Linked DNA regions of Homo sapiens: region 2 is linked to region 1. The links are contacts of gene promoters, found by promoter capture Hi-C in human tissues and cell types (Jung and others, 2019). All regions are on one chromosome and are shown on one strand. The core of a region is centred on a gene start or on the middle of the fragment in contact, and the rest is flanking DNA. Distances in the headings are between cores, read along the strand shown.

Region 1 (6,462 bases), core at 2,904-5,403:
TGGTTCATGTCTTTCCCCTTAGTAACACAGCATTCAAATCTTCACCCTTCCTCTGGCCATGTGCTCAGCCAGGGAAAGAGCTCTCTACAACAGGATAAATCATGATTAACCTAAGATAATCATGATGATTCCACTCCGGTTTCCAAGGATTTCATTAGGCATGGGTTTGTGAAGCAATTCTAGCCAAAGAGACATTGAGGGAAGTCTGGTAAGTTTCTGGAAAAAAAAAATGTGTGTGTGTGTGTACATACATATATATATATGTGTGTGTGTGTATATATATATGTATGTACACACACACACATACATTTTATATATATATATATTCCTTGCTCTTATATAAGTATATATACATATATATGAGCAAGGAATATGTATATATAAAAGAATATATATATGTATGTTCTACCTATCTCTTGTTAAGAGCATGTAACTATATATATATACACACACACACAACCTATCTCTTAAGTGTGTGTGATATATATATATATACATATTCGCTGTTAACAAGAGTTAGGTAGAATGACTTTTTGAACCAGTTGAACCAACCCTAGTAATATGTTTCAGTTCTCTTTAGCCTGCCTACAAAAGGAATATATAAACATATATATATTCCTTGAATATATAAGCATATATATATATTCCTTGAATATATAAGCATATATATATATTCCTTGAATATATAAGCATATATATATATTCCTTGAATATATAAGCATATATATATATTCCTTGAATATATAAGCATATATATATATTCCTTGAATATATAAGCATATATATATTCCTTGAATATATAAACATATATATATTCCTTGAATATATAAGCATATATGTATTCCTTGAATATATAAGCATATATGTATTCCTTGAATATATAAGCATATATATGTATTCCTTGAATATATAAGCATATATATATTCCTTGAATATATAAGCATATATATATATTCCTTGAATATATAAGCATATATATATATTCCTTGAATATATAAACATATATATATTCCTTGAATATATAAATCCTTGAATATATAATATATATTTATATAATATATAATATATATAAATATTATATAATATATAATATTATATATTATATTATATTATATATATATTATATATTATATTATATAATATATTATATATTATATTATATAATATATTATATATTATATTATATTTATTATATTATATTATATATAATATGTATAATATGTTATATAATATATATTATATATAAATATATATTATTATATATCATATATATTATATTATATATGATATATATTATATAATATATCATATATTATATATTATATATATTATATATTATATAATATATGATATATTATATAATATATGATATATTATATATAATATGTGATATATTATATAATATATTATATATGAGATATATTATATAATATATTATATATCATATATAATATATATAAATGTTATATAATATATAAAATATATTATATAATATATAATATAGATAATATATAATATAAATATATATAATATATAATATAGATAATACACAATATAAATATAGATAATATATAATATAGATAATATATAATATAAATATATATAATATATAATATAGATAATATATAATATTATATTACATATTATATATTATCTCTACTAATATATTTCAATTCTCTGTAACCTACCTGCAAAATTCAACAGAATGAAAAACTCTTCAATATTTGGCTGTTAGAAAGAATGTCCATGTATTGAATAAATGATCTAAAAGGAACAGATTACAGTAGCCTCAATCATCCAGTCTCTCTCTCTGTCTCCCAGTCACATGCGGTTCCAGGAAGACTCTTAGACCTCATTCTGATAAAATATATGCAATTTGTCATGATACTTAATGGACTAAAAGGTAACTTGTACAGATCTCTCCTGTTTCTATTCCAGGGAAAACTAGAGAAATTAAGTTGCATTGAGGGCCTCATCCTTGATGGAAGCATTGTCAATTATAAAAGCTTATTTTGTGTCGAGAATTTATACCTGACCACCCATCGGGGTTGGGAGAGTTTTGGGATGCTTCTCTCCTCAGGCTGTTTCATTAGATTAGGGTTTCTTAACCTTACTATTGATATTTTGGACCACATAATTTCTTATTATGTGGAGCTACTATGTGCATTTTCAGATGTTTTAGTGGCAACGCTGGTGTGTACTCGCTAGATGCTGGTAGCACTCTCTAATTGTGACAATCAAAAAATGTCTGCAGAAGCAGCCAGATGTCCCCTGAGAGGCAAAATTGCCCCCAAGTTGAAAACCACTTTTTAAGAGATAGATGATTGTTTCTTATAGGTCTATTTTGTTGTAAGACGAGGGCAGAAGAGAGGGCAGTTCTATCATTGCCTTAACCACTTTATATTATAATGAGAAAAATAGAATGAATGAGCTAAGTTCCTCAAATTGGTCCTTTCAACCATACAGAGAACCTTTTGATGTGAGATATGTTTTGAAGCAAAATATAGTTACAGGTTAAACACTTCACCCACAAAAAATCTGCAAAATAAAAAGTCAGAGTTATATTATTTTGTAATCCTACTTCCAAAGGTTAAATAATCACAGATTTAACAAATTACCTCTAATATGATGATGTTAAACCGTCTTCTTAATGAGGCTTCAATTTGTCACTGTTAATAGAATCAGCCAGGAATTCACTCCATTTGAACATGAAAAAAAAAAAGTCTACCTGTAAGGACAGTTCAGGTGTTACCTGAATCATGCTTCAACAGAATTGCATGAATGGGACAAGTAGACTGTTTCCTAGAGTTTTTTTTTAAAAAAGCAAATATTAACTAAAATACAGGGAATACTAACAAATATTAACTAAAATAGGCCAGGGAATACAATAAATGCTTTTGTCCAAATGAGAAAACTCTATCATGTCTATGATTAAATGTTCATGTCCATTTTTCACACTAGGAAATAAGGTCTTTTCTTTTTCTATCCCTAGGACTTTGTGGCATGCTGAGCACATAGAAGATAACCTATACATGATAGAAAATAAATTTTTGAGTGGGTGTTGCCAATTTATTGGCTCCTTGAAACAGACTTTAGATAAAGATTTAAGATAAAACTAAACAATAAGGCATCTTTAAAGCCGTAAAGATTCTGTAATTTGCAAAAATCATGTAGTGATTTTTTATCATTGTGGCCATCCTTTCCTCTTCCCACTACTGTCCTTCCAGTTACTAAATCTGTTATTCAGCCTTTGTCTGTGTCTCTACATCTATGCTGCTACTTTGAGTCCAAGCCACTATCTTCTTTTGCCTAAGCTCATTCTCTTGTTATTCTCCCTCTCCAATACATTTTCCCCATAAAGCAACCAAAGTGAACATTTTGAAACACATTTGTCACCTCCCTGGCTTAGAACCCTACAGTGTGTTTCTCTTGTCCTTGGGACATCATCCAAAATCCTTAGCCTCTACAAGAGTAGGGCCGTCTCTATTTTCTTCTCCAATATATGTCCACTCTCAGTATTTGCCAGCACATAGTAGGTTCTTACCAGAAGATGGGACTGTATTAGGCTAACAATAAGAGTTTACACTGTTTTCTTAGTGTTGGATCTTTAGGTGTGGGATAGGCATTTAATGTGGGAAGTGGGTGGGAATGGTTTGCTCCTACTTCCCACAGAATGCCATACTGGGTAGTGTTGAACCATCCCACAGAATGCCATATTCGGTAGTGTTGAACCATCCCACAGAATGCCATATTGGGTAGTGTTGAACCATGCATGAAAACTGGCAACTGGCCCAGGTACATGCACTAATACATGAATTATTTTTATCTTTGCCTTTGCCTTACAGCTAGAAAAAACATTATATGGCTGGGTAGATTTTCAGTCTCTCCAGAACTAAGGAAGAAACCCAAGGCTTTAAAAAATTCTTACCAGTTTATTTATTGCTTTACAGCCTATTCAAATTGTTATGTATCTTGACTCATTGCTTAGCTTTTTGGCCAATAGGATTTCAGGATGCAATGCACTAATATAAACTCTTGGATTGGTTTAACTACCTCTGATGTCATAATTTCCCCATTTGGATGTCATAATTTTCTTGAAATCACATGGTACCAATCACAAGTCTTGTTATTTTGTTTCATTATGAGAAAGATAATCTACTAAATATTAAAATACTGGAAGGAGCAAGATAGCTTTGATCCAGGGAGACCTTTTCCATTTATGTGCTTTAGTAATCTGCCGCCAACAAGCTATCTTCTTTATGTTCTTCTACAACTGATGTTGTTTTGTTTTCTCATGTTTGTCTCTTAATAGACAAATGGAGGCATGAGCTTCCTTAGAATTACCCCTTCGACGCATAGTTCTGTTTCATCTGGACTTTTGAGGCTTAGTATCTTTCTACTACTTAGCTTTCCTGACTCAAACGGAAAAGCCATTTGGACAGCTCACCTGAATATAACATTTCAGGTTGGAAATGAGATCACATCGGAATTAGGAGAGAGTGGAGTGTTCGGGAATCATTCTCCTCTGGAAAGGGTGTCTGGTGTGGTGGCACTTCCTGAAGGATGGAATCAGAATGCCTGTCATCCTTTGACCAATTTCAGCAGGCCCAAACAGGCAGACTCATGGCTGGCCCTCATCGAACGTGGAGGCTGTACTTTTACACATAAAATCAACGTGGCAGCAGAGAAGGGAGCAAATGGGGTGATCATCTACAACTATCAAGGTACGGGCAGTAAAGTATTTCCCATGTCTCACCAGGGGACGGAAAATATAGTCGCGGTGATGATAAGCAACCTGAAAGGCATGGAAATTTTGCACTCGATTCAGAAAGGAGTCTATGTGACAGTCATCATTGAAGTGGGGAGAATGCACATGCAGTGGGTGAGCCATTACATCATGTATCTATTTACCTTCCTGGCTGCCACAATTGCCTACTTTTACTTAGATTGCGTCTGGAGACTTACACCTAGAGTGCCCAATTCTTTCACCAGGAGGCGAAGTCAAATAAAGACAGATGTGAAGAAAGCTATTGACCAGCTTCAACTGCGAGTTCTCAAAGAAGGGGATGAGGAATTAGACCTAAATGAAGACAACTGTGTTGTTTGCTTTGACACATACAAACCCCAAGATGTAGTACGCATTTTAACTTGCAAACATTTTTTCCATAAGGCATGCATTGACCCCTGGCTTTTAGCCCATAGGACATGTCCCATGTGCAAGTGTGACATCCTGAAAACTTAAGAAATCTGGAGAATTTTCTGAAGATGTAACCAGATCTTTCCAAATACAAAGATTAGATAAATTGTCTTATTGTACTTTATGTAGAGAGAAAATTTCAGCTTCTCTACCCAAGTATGAACAAGGGTGAAATTTGTGTTTTAAAAATAAAACTCCTTATCATGCCCAGCTATTTGAACTTCTTGTCTTTCTAATCAGTTTTAATTGTTTTTTTAGGTGAATTTTATTTTATTTATTTATTTTTTATTATACTTTAAGTTTTAGGGTACATGGGCACAACGTGCAGGTTAGTTACATATGTATACATGTGCCATGTTGGTGTGCTGCACCCAGTAACTCGTCATTTAACATTAGGTATATCTCCAAATGCTATCCCTCCCCGCTTCCCCCACCCCACAACAGGCCCCGGTGTGTGACGTTCCCCTTCCTGTGTCCATGTGTTCTCATTGTTCAATTCCCACCTATGAGTGAGAACATGCGGTGTTTGGTTTTTTGTCCTTGCGATAGTTCGCTGAGAATGATGGTTTCCAGCTTCATCCATGTCCCTACAAAGGACATGAACTCATCCATTTTTATGGCTGCATAGTATTCCATGGTGTATATGTGCCACATTTTCTTAATCGTATCCCTTTTTGCCCTTATCCAAATAAGAACATTAGTATATGTTAAAAACAAATTTTTTTTTCTTCAAGTTACTAGGATTGTGACATTGCCATAGAGAATTAGCCATGCTATTTTAAAGTTTCCTTTTTTAATACTAATTCTTGTACTTTGTTTCCACATTTTGACTAATTTTGGTATCTAATAATTTATATCTCTGATTCTCCATGGTTAATTAATTTTATTAATACCCAGGAAATCTAGTTTCCAAAGCTACTCACTGGATTGGTAATGTGTTCTAAATAATTATTTTAGATGATAGTACTTTGGATATGTAAGGAAAAGTGTTCTAAATTATTATAGGCTTCATTTAGGATAACATTGCAAACATTCACTTTTGTTTGCCAGAGCTCTTTAAATCCTAGCATAGTGACTCAGCTATGGTAGCAGATTTCTTTTCTAGAAGTGTCCTTAGTAAATGCTTCTCTTTTCCTCTCCAAATGGTAATGAATGTTTCTCTGGGGGCATTTTGATAACATAGGGCAGAGCTAAAATTTTGTTCAATTGCCTTTCGATGTTATATTCTTTGCCTTATTTTGCATCTTCCTTTTTTCTAGTAGATG
Region 2 (6,462 bases), core at 2,258-4,757, 35 kb before region 1:
GTTTTTTTACCTGAAAGAATGGAAAAAATTGGTGTGCTGTCCAGTCTCCGTGTAGGATAGGATTTAAGGTATTCACAGTGCTTCATAACTGTTTTGAGTTTCAAGATGTACAAAGCTGCTGTTATAGCTTATTTTAAGGGTTGTTTCACTTGAAAACTCAAAATGAATAAAGTGCTAATGTTGAAAAATCTCTTTTACCTGTATTTTCTGTCTGTCCAGTTCCCACAGCCATCCTTCTTCCCTAGTTTCTGTCTATATATGGAAGCAAATTCACATACATGTTATTTATCCATTTTCTATGTGAGTGGTGACTTATTTTAACTGCTGTTCTATAACTTGCTTTCTGCCCCAAGATATTTTTAAAATATTTAAAATCAGTACATAGAGAATGTTTACATTCTTTTAATGCAATGAATAGTATACCACTGTTTATAGATGTGGCATAATTTAGTCTCCTATATATGAACATTTAGGTTATTTTCCTTGTTTTTGCAATTAAGAATTATGTGGTAAATAACCTTCTACACATGTCATTTCTCACATGTGCAGGTGTATCTGTAGTATTGATCCAATCTCAAAGTGGAATTGCTGATTCCAAGGATATGTACCTTTAAAATGGCTTCTCATACAGTTTTAATTTGTATTCTTTTTATGAATGTAGGCTTGTTTTCATGGATTAAGTCTTTTATCTGAACATATCAATTTTGTCCATTTTTCTGTTGGTTTATTTATGATGTTCTTATCAATTTCTAGGAACTCTCTATATGGTTAGAAATGAACTCTTTGGGTAATGAGTTGCAAGTATTTTTTTTTCTAGTTAATCTTTTCCTATTTTGCCTATGGTATTTTTTGCCATGTAAAATTTATTTTTAATGCAAATAAATTGATGACATTTCAGTATTTTTAATAGAGTTTATTTTTTTATGAAATTTTAATTTCACAACAAAATTGAGCTTGAGTGGATGGTACAGAAATTTCCCATATATATCCTGCCCCCACACATGCATAGCCTACACTGTTATCAACAGCTGATCTTTTTACTGTCTCCATAGCTTTGCCTTGTCCAGAATGTCATATCGTTGGAGTCGTACAGTATGTAGCCTTTTTATATTGGCTGCTTTTACATAGTAATATGCATTTAAGGTTCCTCCATGTCTTTCCATGGCTTGATAGCTTATTTCATTACTTGCTAAATAATATTCCATTGTTGGACGTACCCGAGTTTATCCATTCATCTACTGAATTTTGCAATTATGAAAAAAGCTACTTTAAACATTTGTGTACAGGTATTTGTGTGGACATAAATTTCCAACTCATTTGGGCAAGTACTAAGGACTGTGATTACTGGATCATATGATAGAAGTGTATTAATTTGTAAGAAACCATCAACCTGTTTTACAAAGTAGCTATACCATTTTGCTTTCCCAGTAGCAAAGAATGAGAGATCCTGTGGTCTATATCCTTGCCAGCATCAAGTGTTTTCTGTGTTCTGGATTTTGTTCTTTCTAATGGGTTTGTAGTAAATCTCATTATTTTAATTTGCATTTCCCTGATGACATGAGGTGGAACATCTTTTATATTATTTTAACACCATTCATTGAGTAGACCATCCATTACTACTGATTTGAGTTGCTATATAGGTGTTTTATAGTACATTTCTGATTGTATTTCGGTCTGTTTCTTCGATCTGTTCCACTGGTCTATCTCTTGGTATACAGTCTGGTTTATCTTGATAATGCAAATAGCTTTTAGGAAACTGCTTTCTGACAGCTATCCCCAGTGCTAGATTTTAAGTTTAGTTTTCTTTTCCTGCCCCATCTTGCCTATGTGAAAAAGTAGACTTCTTCTTTATGCTAATAAAGTATTCATTTATTTGCTTTTTGTATGTAATTGTCATATTTGATCCATTTTATGTCTTAAATGTAACTGCAGTATCCTCTATTCATAAAAATATTGAAGCCTGACATTTAGCCAGGTGACTCTGGCTTATTTTGTGAACTATATCAACTTTGTTGGAGCTTCCAAGAAGATGATTTGCCCAAACCTCCTTTCCTTGATTCATATCCATGAATTTTCTACACTGTAATTACCAAAGAGTAACTCACTGTTATAATAGCGGAACTTAAATACTAATGATGTAGAAATTGCAAATATTGTAGTTTAGAAGAGTTTTAAAGAACAAAAAAGATATCTTTGATAAAATAAAATTGAATGAAAAAATACACAGTTTCTAGTTTTTGAAGAGTATGTATTTTATTTATCAAGCAAAGGAGTTGGCACAAGTGATCAGTAAGGTCTCCTTCAGTTCATTGTCATTCTTTGCATACATTTCCATTGCCATTATTTTACTTGGCTTGCAAGGAGAAGCTCTTCTTGGCATTCCCAGAGCTTAGTAACTATAGTGCTTTCAGCCGCCTCACTCTCAGCAATTGCTGTCCCATTTCCATTTGGTCCCTTTTGTGAATCATGCCTAGAGAGCTAAAGTCATGAACTTAATTTGCGTTGCTAGTATGCACCCATACAAAAGGTACCTGCTTCCATTTTCTTAATATTACAGAAATGGAGATTGTAATATAATGATGATGTTCCTGCACCTCAGCTTGGTTAAGCTTCCTCTAAAATGAAGGAGATAATCTTAGTAAAGAGATGGAATGGTCTTCTTTCTTCGCTGCCCATGGCAAAAGTTTTTTTTTTTTTTTTTTCCCCCCCTGGGTACAATAGGACACTTTTTAATTTTTTTTAAATCAGTCTGTTACTCCCAGCTACAGTTTCTTTAAAAACTGTCTTATTTGTTAGAGTCCTAAATAAAACCCATTTTTTGAAAGAGCTTGTCTTCCTTTTATTTGAATGGCAGTTTAATAAGCCTTTTGAACAGATTTATACTTAATTCACATCAGCCTTCTTTTTGAGCCAAGTCATACCAGTTTGTTTAGTCTTCCTAATCCTTTAATCATTTTATCCTCAGTATGTTTCCAGATGCTTCACATCCCTCTGTAGATTCCAGAACTGGAATGAGTTTGTTAATAAAGTCTGATCAGGATCGAATGAAATGGAAGGATCATTCCTTTGCTGTTTCTTATGTATTTTGGAATTTGTTGTTTTATCTCCAAGACTATGTTGTTTTCTCTCCAGTTAAGCATAAAAAAAAAAAAAGCTTCTGCATTACCTAAGATCTAAGACGCCTTATTTCTAGTGAAGTACATGCCCCTGTGTGTACAGTTGTGCAGGGCTTAGTGCCTAGAAGGGCTCTGCACTCAGCTTAATGCTCTCTGTTCCTGCCGTCTTGAAATTGTTAATATTTTTACTAAGAAGCTCCTTATTTTTATTTTGCACTGGGCCCTACAAATTAAGTAGCTCACCCTGCTTGTAGTTGATGACTAGAGGACATGATTGATAAGTCACATTTCATGTCTAATTCACCCTCTGTATTAATTATGGAAGCTAGACCCAGGGTAAGGACCCTTGGTTGTAAACTTCCCCAGTTCAGAGCATTTTCTCCTATGTGCTCAAAGACGCATTCACTGCCTACCTGCTGCCTCTCTGTTCTCTTTTGGATTTGTCTTCTTTGTCTTCTCCTTATTATTCCTTCAATTATCTAAACTCAGGTATTGATGTATGTTTGTTCATGGAATCCAAATTTTGGCATGCAATGGCTGTTCTTTCCAGAGGGATCTTTCTTAGGGTACGTTCTGTCTTTTCAGTCTTTCTTCCTATTAACTCTTGTCCAAGGCATCCCTCCCTCATCTCTAAGCTCCTCTCTACTTTCTCTGTTTAGAACAGCTGGCGATTTTGTATAATATTATTAATATTAACTATTAGTTAATTTCTTATCCAAATTTTATATTTTCCCTGTCTCTATGAAGAAACTGGTGTGGCAATCACAAGAATTCTGGAAATTTGAGATAGAAACTTGGGGTAGAAATTTGGATTCCACTTCCATATCAGGATTCTGGAAATTTGGGGTAGAAATTTGGATTCCACTTCCATATCAGGATTACAGAGTACATGAAATGGCTTGGAAATGTTTTAAAGTCTAACCATTAGTGTCCGGGTGCAGTGGCTCATGCCTGTAATCCCAGCACACTGGGAGGCCAAGGCAGGCGGATCATTTGAGGTTAGGAGTTTGAGACCAGTCTGGCCAACATCTCTACTAAAAATACAAAAATTAGCAAGGCGTGATGGCAGGCACCATAATCCCAGTTACTCAGGAGTCTGAGGCAGGAGAATCGCTTGAACCCGGGAGGTGGAGGCTGCAGTGAGCCGAGATCGCACCACTGCACTCCAGCCTGGAAGACAGAGCTTGACTCCATCTTGAGATGGAGGTCTAACCATTAGAACAAGTAGTAGGATGTTTTAGCTTTTATTTTTCTTTACTATAAAGTTAATTCTAGATGTGAAATCTAATATACAGCAAATATGATTTTTAATAGTCATTATTTTTTCATGTACTGGCCAATTTATCTGCTTATTTTCTCTTTTTCTTGTAGCTTAACAAACAACAGTTGCAGTTACTGAAAGAACGGTTCCAGGCCTTCCTCAATGGGGAAACCCAAATTGTAGCTGACGAAGCATTTTGCAACGCAGTTCGGAGTTATTATGAGGTAAGTTTGAAGAGCTTTGTTTTTGGCTTTCCGATGCATTTTAAAAGGAGTTTTATTATTTTTATGGGTTTCTCATTTTAAAGAAGCTTGCTGGTCTGACAGGAAGGCTGTGAATTTGCAACCTTTTTGAAAGCATTGTCAGTTCTATTTAGCAATTTAAAAGCTCTAATTCCACAGCCTGGTTTTGAGAGATAAACAGAATCGAAATTAGTCACATCTTTTGAGGAGAAGTAAACTATTTAGAAAAATCTTCTGGCAGTGATTGATACAGCTGACTATAGCTATCTTTAGGTCCACATGTCTAAATTATCCTTTTAAATCTGGATTTCAATAGTAAATTGCTATCTTATGCAATTTTGTTCCCTAAGCTTTATAATAATTAAAGCTAGTAACTAATTTCAAGAGGATGAATTGAATTCTCTTTGCTTCCTAAAGAAATAATACTACCAATACCATTCTGCTGTTTCTTCTGATTCTAGCTTGTGACTCATAGGAGTTTCTCTATGGATTTCCTATGAGCACCAGTTTTCACACATGGTCATTAACTGCTTCAGTGAGTTGCCACTAGCTGTTAGTTTAGAGAATTCACTTTTTGCATAAGCAATTCAGAGTCATTTGAGGGAATGGATTCCTTTCATTGTGCAGGTACTCAACACCTTTCAGCTGAAGAAGCATAATATGCGAATATATATTAGACTAATAAACAAGGGAAAATGTGGAGATACAATGGGTCTGAACTTACCTGAGGCAAGAATATTTTTGTGTAAAAATATTAAGTAATTGGATGTACTGTTAACTGATTGGATTTGTAATAGTGATGGTATGCATCAGAGGTTAATTAATGCAACTCTAGAGAAGTTTACCTTACCCCAAGCCTCAGCCTATTGAATTAAATGAAGTTTTGCTGACTAAATATGTATATAACATAAATCTAATGTCAAGAGTGGGTATGTCCAACTGGACCTTGTCTCAGAATATCTTAACAAGTTATAGGAGCTCAAAATTTTAACATCTATAGGACCTTAGATTTCACCTTGTAAGAGTCAGAGGAAGATTTCATCATGTAAAATTCAATATTTGAATCTTACAGTATTAACTGTAAATTTCTATATTTGCCTCATGTACTTAAACTAAAGAAAAGCCAAAAGTCTGTATTTGGGATGAAGGAAATGTAGCTCAGGGGAGTAATCTGTATAAAAAGATATAAAGTTTTTAGTGAAACAGTAGGCTTATATTTGGTTTTGATAAATGCACTGCTGCACTCTAAGATGATAAGGTTAGGGAAACTGAAATTGGATCAGCAGGGGGATGAGGGAGTTCTTTGTACTATCATTGTAACTTTTGTGTAAACCTAGAATATTTCAAAATAAGTGAGTTTTTAAAAGTAAGCGTAGTATGATGTGGCCACAGTTTAGAAAAAGGCACACATTTCAACAGAATACAGATTGAAAAAAAGGCACACAAGCTGTGCTAATAAAAATATTGTAACTCCAGTGAAGGAGAGAGTATCCCCATTGTGTTCTACATGAGGATTATGTTCTCTTCTGGGCACCATATATGAATAAAAAAAGTGCACAAATTTAGTGATCAGGTTTGAAACATGCCATATGTAAGTTGAAGGAGCTGGGGGTGTTTAGCCTGTAGACAGATTCGGTTTATGGTGTTGTATGCAATCCCAAGAGTAAAACTAGGACTTGGGTGGAAACTGAAGTGGGGAAGATTTCAACCTAATATATCTAGAGTTTGGTTGCAGTGCCCCAAAATAGAATGGACTGGTTGAGTATAGCATCACAACTTGATTCTAGTGGCCTTTCACAGTCACTTGGGAAACATACTACAGAAACAGGTCCTGGGGTTCTGT

What was found. Contacts are between HindIII fragments. The study calls those that stand out against the background at their distance.
Region 2: a fragment that was not itself captured here is called in contact with the fragment with the promoter of RNF148 in region 1 in 1 of the 25 tissues and cell types used here (hippocampus).

Annotation. Positions count from the first base shown.
Region 1 is chr7:122,700,613-122,707,074 of GRCh38, reverse strand. It overlaps RNF148 (ring finger protein 148), which reads left to right and starts at 4,153. Exons shown (of 1, transcript NM_198085.2): 1 at 4,153-5,407. The coding sequence starts at 4,325. The coding sequence ends at 5,242. All of the region lies in intron 2 of CADPS2 (calcium dependent secretion activator 2), which reads left to right. LOC124901738 (a long non-coding RNA gene) reads right to left here and starts at 3,983. Exons shown (of 3, transcript XR_007060503.1): 1 at 3,929-3,983; 2 at 2,619-2,696. The HindIII fragment of the contact is 4,808 bases long and covers 1-4,743 here.
Region 2 is chr7:122,735,094-122,741,555 of GRCh38, reverse strand. CADPS2 (calcium dependent secretion activator 2) reads left to right here. Exons shown (of 30, transcript NM_017954.11): 2 at 4,488-4,601. The region is part of intron 2 of LOC124901738 (a long non-coding RNA gene); the gene reads right to left. Among named protein-coding and RNA genes, the nearest start is that of RNF148, 35 kb to the right of the region's middle. The HindIII fragment of the contact is 4,462 bases long and covers 1,277-5,738 here.